Linked DNA regions of Homo sapiens: all the other regions are linked to region 1. Evidence: promoter capture Hi-C in 16 types of primary human blood cells and fetal thymus (Javierre and others, 2016). All regions are on one chromosome and are shown on one strand. The core of a region is centred on a gene start or on the middle of the fragment in contact, and the rest is flanking DNA. Distances in the headings are between cores, read along the strand shown.

Region 1 (3,126 bases), core at 520-3,019:
CTTGTGGTATTTTCTTCCCAGGTTGGAGTGTTTTTGTATAATCACATCTTATTCTCTTTTAACAGTTATCAACTCTTGGCTAGATCCCCTTATACAATACAGAGTATAGTTTATTCTCAGTAGTGTAGCCATCCTCATTATTATCAAACAGAACTAATTGCTGAGATGCTCATAGTAATATGCAAAACAGCTTGTCCTTTGTTATTTAGAAATTGTTTATATTAAGTTTATATTCTCTTTTAATTTGTTAAAGATATAATTCTTTGACTGAGATAGGACATTTCTTCTCATTGGTTTATTTATTTTAGAGATGAGATCTCACTATGTTGCCCAGGATGATTTTGAACTCCTGGACTCAACCAGTCCTCCTGTCTCAGCCTCCCCAAATGCTAGGATTACAGGTGTGAGCTACTACACTCAGCCATTTCTTCTAGTTTTAGATCTATATAATAAAACGATGCTTTTCTGTGATCCCTTAACATTCTCTACACTCAGGTGCATGTTCAAAGCATATTTGTTTTACTGTTGCCTAGTTTTCCATGTCATTCATTGAATTATCCAATGCATATTAATTATCAGTCACTTTTCCCATTACTAAGGGTACTTGAGTGAACAGAGCAGACAAAAACCCCACCCTTAAAAAGCTTATATTATTTTCAAGTTGTTGCAACTTTGGGTGTTTTTAAAAAATAAAAATTCCCAGCTGATAAAACCAACTTATTTGACAGCTACCTGCCTCACCAGTAGAACCAAGTTATAGCCAGAATTCAGAAATAACATTTTTGAGCATTTATTGTGTCTGACAATGTGCCAATCACTTTACATTTATTTTAGCTCATTTAATGCTTACAACAACTAGAAGGAGGTACTATTAGGATCCCTATTTTACAGATGAAAAAAGTGAAGGTCAGAGAGATTAGTTAAGCAGAGGGTACAAGATTAGGTTCCAGTTGACTCTTAACAACCATTTCATATTCCAGGTGATGCTTTACAGACATCTGATGAATGGATGGATGAATGAATGCATGCACTTTGGGAACTCCCATTCAGCTTGGCATAAATACTAACTCCTTAGAATACCCTAGAAAAATCTAGACCTTTTGTTGGAAGAAAAGAGTGGGAAGGGTGGTAGGGAATTATTTTTTCGAGTGAATTGAGGCAGATGATCTTACAGATGACTGGGTTCTAGTCAGCATGGTTGCCTTATCTGGTGAGAGATGAGAATTGGGCAGACACCAGTTCTGTCTGCCCTGGGCCCTCAAACTGAGTAGCCTCTGAGATTCAAGTTCATCAGCACAGTGTTGGAGGACAGTTCCTGCAGAGCCCCATGAATCAGAGGAGACTCGGAGGCAGGAGGAACTGGCTATCCTAAAGGTGATTTTAAACCGGGGTAGCTAGAGCCCAAAGAAGGGCGAAACCAGGACTAACTGCCCCATAGCATGAGGGGCAGCGCCTGTAAAATTACATAGGATTTGTAAAGGTGGAAGGCACTGTTGCGCCGGGTAAAGCTTCGCAAGGTCGTGGTAGGGGAAATGATTCACTCCCCTTCACTATTCCCTCGCAGCATGGTCCTCACAACCCCCTTCTCTTTCCCCATTTCCATTTCCGGACTCTTCTCCTGCCCGCAGGGCAGACGCACGCGCAGAGAGATTGCCAGCCCTGGCTGCCAGAGACCCGGAAGCATCGATCGGCTCTGTGCTCGGCTTCTAGACTTGTCGGCGCTCGATTGAGGAGCGTGGCTACGTTGCTTCCGGTGCCTGGCTCCGTTTCCTGCTTTTGGTTCTTACAGTAGTCGGCGTAGGCCTTAGGTGGGTTCGTGCGCCTTCTACCTCGCTGTTTCGGTTTTCCTGGCTCCTCGGCCCTTTTCTCCCCTGTTGCAGCTGGGAGCGGACGAAGCGCGAAGCTGGGGTGGGTACGCGTTTGGCCCGGGTTTGGATCTCGGAGGGGCAGGCTTGGGGGTGAGGAGACTGACTCTGGGGCCGGGCATCGCGTGGCAGCTCCCTTGGACTTCGTTAGGGGGCCTTGGGCGAAGGTGCTTGTGTCTGGAGAGGCGGGAGGCTTGCGCGTACGAAGTAAAGGATAGTTAATGTCAGTCTGCTCGTGCGAGGCGTGGACAGTTCACTGCGCTTTCAGGTGTCTTCCAGCGGCTCCCTTTTGGTGGTGGCGGGTAATTCAGGGTGTCCCTGTAACAACGCAGCCCACGATCAAACCTCGCATGAAACCCTGCAAGAGCCTCCCCTTTGTCCCCCTACCTTCACTTTGACCTCTGCCTCAGTCACTTCCCTTTCGTCGTCTCCTTTGCGACCCCTGCCCCTTCTCCAGATTTCGATTTAGGGGGTCGCAAGGCTTTGAGAAGCGTTACGTTTTACCTGTTACCTGCACAAGTGCAGCCCCTGCTTGTAGGCTCTTCCCTTGTCAATCATCCAATGCAGTTCACATACAGTGGATGCTCTGTAAATACTGTGAGATAAAGGAATATGTGGGGCACACAAGGAAATCATCCAAGTTCACAATTTGCAAGTAAAAACCATGTAAAAAATGCAATAGTGTGGTATATGAGGAAGACAAGTGTAGAGGAGAAAGCAAGGGCTGAATTTCCAGGCCTGATGCTTATTAGCTGTGTGACCTTAGGCAAGTTCCTTACCTGGTAATAGCTGTTAATAATAGCTACTCTTAAGTGTTTACCGCTGATGCAGAACTGTGCTAGAATTCATTTAGTCTTCTGAGTTCTATTGGGTAGGTTCTGTTACCATTCTTATTTTACTGATGAGGACCTGAGAGGTTAAGGAACTTCCCTCAGGCAAACAGCTAGTAAGAAGCATAAATAGGATTTGAATTCACATCTGGCTGATACTGGAATCTGAGTTTAATCGTCATGCCACACTGCTGTCATTGAGCTCCTTTCTTTCAAGTCGGTTAGAGATAACCTTGGAGTCCAGACAGCTTGGTGATGCTGTATACAAATTAATAGGTATGGAAGGACTTTGTAAGTGCACCCATTAAGTAGTTGGCAAACTTCATTAATGTCTAACCTTATGATTTTTACTGGATGTACATTTGCTACTTTGGTCATTTTTCTTCAAATCTACATTTTAAAATTATTTCATTGAGGAGGTGGAAAGAAAA
Region 2 (3,117 bases), core at 57-2,556, 3.1 Mb before region 1:
CACTGATACCATTATTATAAATATAACCTATGTGGTTTTATTATGTAACTTGGGGCTTTTTTTCTTTCTCTTCTACCACTGACTTCTTAGGGAGGGGCAAGGGGAAGAAGTTTATTACATAGTAAGAATAACAGTTTATTACATAGCAATAGTAACTGAAACCGATTTTGTTACCTAGAAGTAGGATGGATATTATAACAAAACATAACATAATAACATCATAAAAGTAAAACGTGTGGCACTGGCTTTGGAACTAGGTGAAGCAGCAAGAGCAGGAAGGGATCCAAAGTATTAACAAGAGTCTAAAAGGACTTGAGGAAGCTGCCAATGAGGGCTTAAAGGGAGCTAAGGAAGATGTTATTGGAAGCTGGAGAAAATGGGGCCCTTGTTATATAGTGCCAGAAAGTTTGGCCCAGGCATTAGGAAGCAGACATAAACCATCCCCATTGTGACCTTTCTGAATTCCTCACCCGCAGAATCCATCAGCATAATAAAATAGTTGTTCTTTTGCACCTTTAAAGTGGATTTTTACACAGCAATATTAACTGGAACCAGCAGGAATAAAAGAAAGATGTTAAAGTTTTAAAAAGACATAGACATGCTCCCTTCCATTTCTTAGGCAACATTCTTCCTGGAATTTAACTACATTGTAATAATCATCTCCCAGTGCTGCTCTGTATACTTTTGTCTTGGGTATCACACCCAGATGCCACACAGGCCATCCTCTGGTAGGTGAATACTGCTCAAGTAAAAGTAACAAAATTCTTCGGACCCTTTTTTTTATTATTATTATTGAGGCAGAGTCTCACTCTGTTGCCCAGGCTAGAATGCAGTGGTGCGATCTCAGCTCACTGCAACCTCTGCCTCCCCGGTTCAAGTGATTCTCCTGCCTCAGCCTCCCCAGTGGCTGGGATTACAGGTGCCCGTGACCACGCCCGGCTAATTTTTGTCTTTTTAGTAAAGATGGGGTTTTGTCATGCTGGCCAGGCTGGTCTCGAGCTCCTGACCTTAGGTGATCCACCCATCTCGGCCTCCCAAAGTGCTGGGATTACAGGCATGAACCACCATGCCCAGCCCAGACCCAAGTTTTAACATTTTTAACCTGCATTGGGTACAGTAACAATGAGATCCTTTGAAATATTAATAACGAACAGTTGTAATATCTATTTGATTAACTCAACATGTTAAATTTGAAAGGAAAGTCTATACTAGTAAATCTCCTTCAGAAAAAATCTGGTTGCCTCCCTCTTCCTGTTCCCACCTCTCCCAAACCCGGAAAAGCAGCAAGCTGAGGAATTACTTCCTTTATCTCAAATAATCATGTCTGCTGCATCTTGATCTTTGTACTCTAAGTAAGCCCCCTCTGTCCTGGTTCCCTGGGGGTCTCCCTTTGTTTTGTATTCCTGGAAAACTATTGCTTTAACACATGTGTCAGAAATGTAGCAGAACAATAGTGATAGTTTTCAATTGTTGTGCCGCAAGTTAACACCAATTCACCTGCTTAAGACAACACAAATGTAATATTTCCGTTTCTGTGGATCAGGTGTCCAGGTCTCTGCTCAGATCTCAGAAGGCTGAAATCAAGGTGTCAGTCAGAGCTGCCATCTCATCGGATGCCCAGAGCGATTCTCCAAGCTCATTCAGGTGATTGGCAGAATTCAAATCCTTGCAGCTGTAGAGCTGGCCACTTTTGTCTTCTTCAAGGTCAGGAGGAGCAGTCCTCTCTGACTTTTCCACCTTGAAAGGACTCAACTGATTAGGTCAGGTCCCCCAGGATAATCTCTCCTTTGATGAACACAGAGTCAATGATTCGTCGTCAAGTTTCAGGAGGGATGGCCATCATATTCTCAGCTTCCATCCACACTCCAGGGGAGAGGATCATACAGGGTCTGTGCACCAGGGGTAGAAATCTTGCAGGTCATCTTAGAATTTTGCCTACCACGTGGAAAAAAGAAAGTTTCAATTATAGATGGACTGCGACAACCCTTCAAGCAGTCCTATGGTAGACAACAGTTGTTTCGCCTGCCCAGCATGAATTCCTTCTTATTTCTCCTAACAGCACCCCACTTCACTTCCAGGGACTGCCCTTCACCACTTGCACCCAGCGTAAGTGGGACTGTCCATCAGGATGCTCCGTGGGATGATCAACTGACCCATGCTAAGCTAAAGCTGCTTCTTGCCTGGAATTTGAAAATTGACAGCAATAATGCAAAGAGTAAAAGCAGTTGTTTATTCAACCAAGGTTACAGAGTTCCCTGTTACTGCTCCAGAGCTTGTATTTTTCCAAAACCTGCTTCCTTAGTTTTTCTTTCAATTATCTTAGGTACTCCCTATCCTTCCAACAAATTCCTTTTATCTTCTTTAATATATAAAATTTTGAGCAAGACAAATAATCCAGAGATTACTTGACTCCCATGTCAAGCCCTGATGACAACACATTGTCTTCGGAGCCCTGACGAAGACTGGTAAGATGAAAGGTGGCCCACCTGCCATCTCTGGTTTCATCCTTGTTGTCTGTCAATTATCTGGCCAGCTATGTTGTCATCCCCCATTCATAGGGCAATATAAATATTCTTCCTGCACAACAAACTGTCTGACCAGTTTGTGATTTAACACCTTTCTCTGCAATCTCTTAGCTTTTTTATTGTAACATGTAAAGAGTGTCCCCCCATTCTCATAAGCTTGTTATAAACATGAAATACAATTTGCTGAACCAGAACCAGTGTCAGCTTCTCAATCACTTTTTCCTAACCACCTTATTTTAAATTGCAATCACACTACCCTGCCTGTTCTCCTTCCTGTTTTATCTCTATCAGTAGCACACACCCCAACTAATCCTCTACAATTTTCCCCATTCTTTTAGTTTATTAATCATCTCTCCTGTAAAGTCAGTTCCATAAAGATGGGGCTATCTTTATTTATTTTTTATTTTTTATTTTTTTGAGACAGTGTCTTGTTGTAGCACCCAGGCTGGAGTGTAGCGATGCTACCATGGCTCACTGCAGCCTCAAACTCCTGGGATCAAGCCATCCTCCTGCCTAAGTCTCCCAAGTAGCTGGGACTACAGATGTGAGCAACTGCACCCAGCTAGAACAGAGATTTAAAAAGAAAAAAAAA
Region 3 (3,058 bases), core at 559-3,058, 3.3 Mb after region 1:
TTTCTTCAAAGCGGGCATACTTGATCCAGTTCTTAACATCAGGGTGCACGAGGACAAGTGCAAGGGAATTAAGGAAATCCCAGGCAAAACAGCATGGCTTAAAAAAATAGTAAGTAAGTAAACACCAAAACCATACCAAAGCCTGGAAACTCCAAAAATTCAAACTACAACTCTAGGGGAACAAAACACATACAAAAGTGTAGAATTAAACAGTGGCTTCTGTGAGAGCAGGGCCACGCCTGTTCATCTCTATTTTCCTCCAGTGCTTAGTTAAGATTTTAGTGGTGGGTATAAACTCGAGTTGGAAGCAAAGAAAAATCTCAACCCAGGTTACCAACCATGTGATCTTGGATAAGTCACTGAACTTAGACGTCTAAGTCTCAGCTGTTTCATTTGTAAACAGGGAAAAATAATGCCAGCCTCACTGGATTACTGCCAGCTTTAAATGAGAAAATGTATGTAAAGCCCTTAGCACAGTTTCTAGCCAAAAGAACATGGCACCGTAAGCGGTCAATAATGGTCTGGTCATTAAATAGCACCAATTATATTAAAATATGAATACTTGAACTAATAATTAAGAAAAAAACATGCTATAAAAAGAAAACTGTTAACTAGAGTCAAAGCAGAAAGTTTTGAATTGTCATTTTAATCTATCTTCCTTGAATAAATCATTAATTTCCAAAGTAGTAATATATTCCAATATGGCAAAGAAGAGCATCAGTTCTGAAGCTGCTCTACTAGGTTCACATTCTATTTCCATCAGCACCTGTGAGAACCCAGTCAAGCTACTTAATCTCTCATGCCTCAGCTCCCTCATCTGTAGGACAGAGAAGTTCCTACACTGCAAGGATGTTATGAGGATTAAACAACAATATCTGTAAAGTACTTAGAATACTGCCTGGCACGTAGCAAGTGCTATAAAAGCTTTCGTCAAACTAATAATATTAAAATTAGTAGACATAATTAAGATCTTAACATTGTCACCTCAACAGAGAAGAGTAAAAAAATAAAAAGATCTTAATACTGCATAATAAAGTTGACTCTCATTATTTCTGGTAGTTATGTTCTATTTAGTCAATGCGAACACTTAATTATTGAGTACTGAACCACTGCTCCTAGGAGAAACGTGTATATATACAATCTCACATTCATCATCATCTTAAATCCTAAAAAGAACTCATCCTGGCAGATTCTATCTTCATTATTTTGTAAGAAAAGTGGTTCAGAAATGTTAAGTGACTGGACTGAGGCTGCCCCACTGACAGGGATTCAAACTCCCCGACTGGCCCCAGAGCCACAGCTCCTTGCACTACATGGCACTGGCCCTTCCTGTCTCCAAGCTCTAGGCATGGTTATATGAGGTTAAGACCAGAAGGCAAGCCTCACCTTGTTGGACTTCATGCTCTGTGCATGTCCACAAATGACTGTGAAAGTGCCACAATTACTGATTTTGGGGGTTACAAATAAATTTTAGCAAATACGTGATTTTGCAAACATGGAATCTGCAAATAGTGAGGAATGACTGTACTTCAGTTTCTAAAAGTGCTTTCATGTGTATCATTTAATCTTCGCAACAGCCCAACAAAGGTGTTTTTATTCTTGTTTTTAAGAAGAGGACACCAACTCTCAAAGGAGTTAAATGACTCTCTGGAGCCACACAGCTAGTAAACAGTAAACCTTGGATGAACTCCAGTAAGGTAGTAATGACCAACACAAACCTTAGAAAAACAGGACTGGCAATGGCAGCCAGGACCTTAGTACAGTTAGTCCTCCAGCCATGGGTTCCATATCTGTGGATTCAACCAACCTGAGATAAAGTATTCGTGAGAAAAAAGTGCTTCTGTATTGAACATGTCGTTTTTTTGCTTATTATTCCTTAAAATATACAGAATAACAATTATTTATATAACATTTACATTGCATTAGGTATAAGTAATCTAGAGATTATTTGAATTATATGGGAGGCTATGCATAGGTTACATGCAAATACTACATCATTTTATATGAGGGACTTAAGCATCACCGATTTTGGTATCCCCTTGAGTTCCTGGAAACAATCCCCCAGGAATATCATTTTCCACAAGGAAACATTAGCTTTTAGCATTACAATAAAATAAACCCAAACTCTCACTAGAAAAGACTAGTTACCCAGAATACAAATTTTCATTCTGACCAATCTCTTTCCCTACAAAACATAGGGAAGCTGATAAACTGGCATTCTTGACTTTGAGCCTGACATTAATGACTGTGTGTCCTGATCATGAGACATCTCTACAGGAGCAGCAGCAGCATCCAGGACAATCATGGCACCATACAGATCTCGTCCAAAGGATATATCGCTCATAAATGGTGCGGGCCCGATCCACCTCTTTGTATCTCAGCTCAAAGTTGATGTAGGAGTGCCAGGCTTGCTCCTCAGGCTGCCACTCCATCCAGCGCTCAAACACCTGCCGGGCACCGGCAACGTTTCCCAACATTTCCTCCATGTACGTGTACTTGTACCTGTAACAAAATCACCCGAAAATATCTGCTGTGGTTTAGTTCTTCCATTGTTGAATGGGAAGAAGATTGAAGATTTTACCTTTCTTAAAGGTTAAATCAAACATGTTTTGTCATTTGTATGTAAATCTGAAAAAGGATGAACCATTGGAAAAAAAGATTTTTTTTTCTTAAAAGTTGCCTAGTTCAACAAGAAGCTTATGAATAAAAGATTGCAATCAAAATTTTAGTTTTGATTACATAGCTATAGAACATTACGATTATGACTTAATAGACTATGGGACATAACAGCATTTATGTCTGAAGAAAAAGTAGGATATCAAATTAAACTATCATCATGTAAATAAAATAAATACAGAAGATGTGGAACTTTGCTAGTCTATAAAAGGCTGTTTTGTTAGATCAGAAACTTACCAGAACTGATTAACTCGAGGCAGCGTTGTTATGGCCCGGTCCCAGATATTTCGAGCATGGTTGACTTGGCGATTCTTCATTTCCATTTCTGCGTATTTCAGCCAGAGTGTAATATTTCGGTAGTCTACATCTAAAGCACGCTCGT

The links. Contacts are between HindIII fragments. The CHiCAGO score rates a contact against its expected background, and 5 or more counts as called.
Region 2: a contact is called between a fragment that was not itself captured here and the fragment with the promoter of SNRPB2 in region 1, in 7 of 17 cell types (activated CD4 T cells, non-activated CD4 T cells, total CD4 T cells and 4 more). The highest score is 10.2, in activated CD4 T cells.
Region 3: a contact is called between a fragment that was not itself captured here and the fragment with the promoter of SNRPB2 in region 1, in 5 of 17 cell types (activated CD4 T cells, naive CD8 T cells, non-activated CD4 T cells and 2 more). The highest score is 9.1, in activated CD4 T cells.

What each region holds. Positions count from the first base shown.
Region 1 is chr20:16,728,257-16,731,382 of GRCh38, forward strand. SNRPB2 (small nuclear ribonucleoprotein polypeptide B2) reads left to right here and starts at 1,770. Exons shown (of 7, transcript NM_003092.5): 1 at 1,770-1,908. RefSeq lists enhancers at 881-1,749, 1,808-1,857, 1,908-2,027 and a silencer at 2,178-2,227. The HindIII fragment of the contact is 9,448 bases long and covers 1,507-3,126 here.
Region 2 is chr20:13,640,123-13,643,239 of GRCh38, forward strand. No RefSeq gene overlaps it. Among named protein-coding and RNA genes, the nearest start is that of TASP1, 2.7 kb to the left of the region's middle. The HindIII fragment of the contact is 2,746 bases long and covers 1-2,679 here.
Region 3 is chr20:20,045,430-20,048,487 of GRCh38, forward strand. CRNKL1 (crooked neck pre-mRNA splicing factor 1) reads right to left here. Exons shown (of 14, transcript NM_001278628.2): 4 at 2,914-3,058; 5 at 2,336-2,502; 6 at 1-57. Among named protein-coding and RNA genes, the nearest start is that of CRNKL1, 5.5 kb to the right of the region's middle. The HindIII fragment of the contact is 1,772 bases long and covers 923-2,694 here.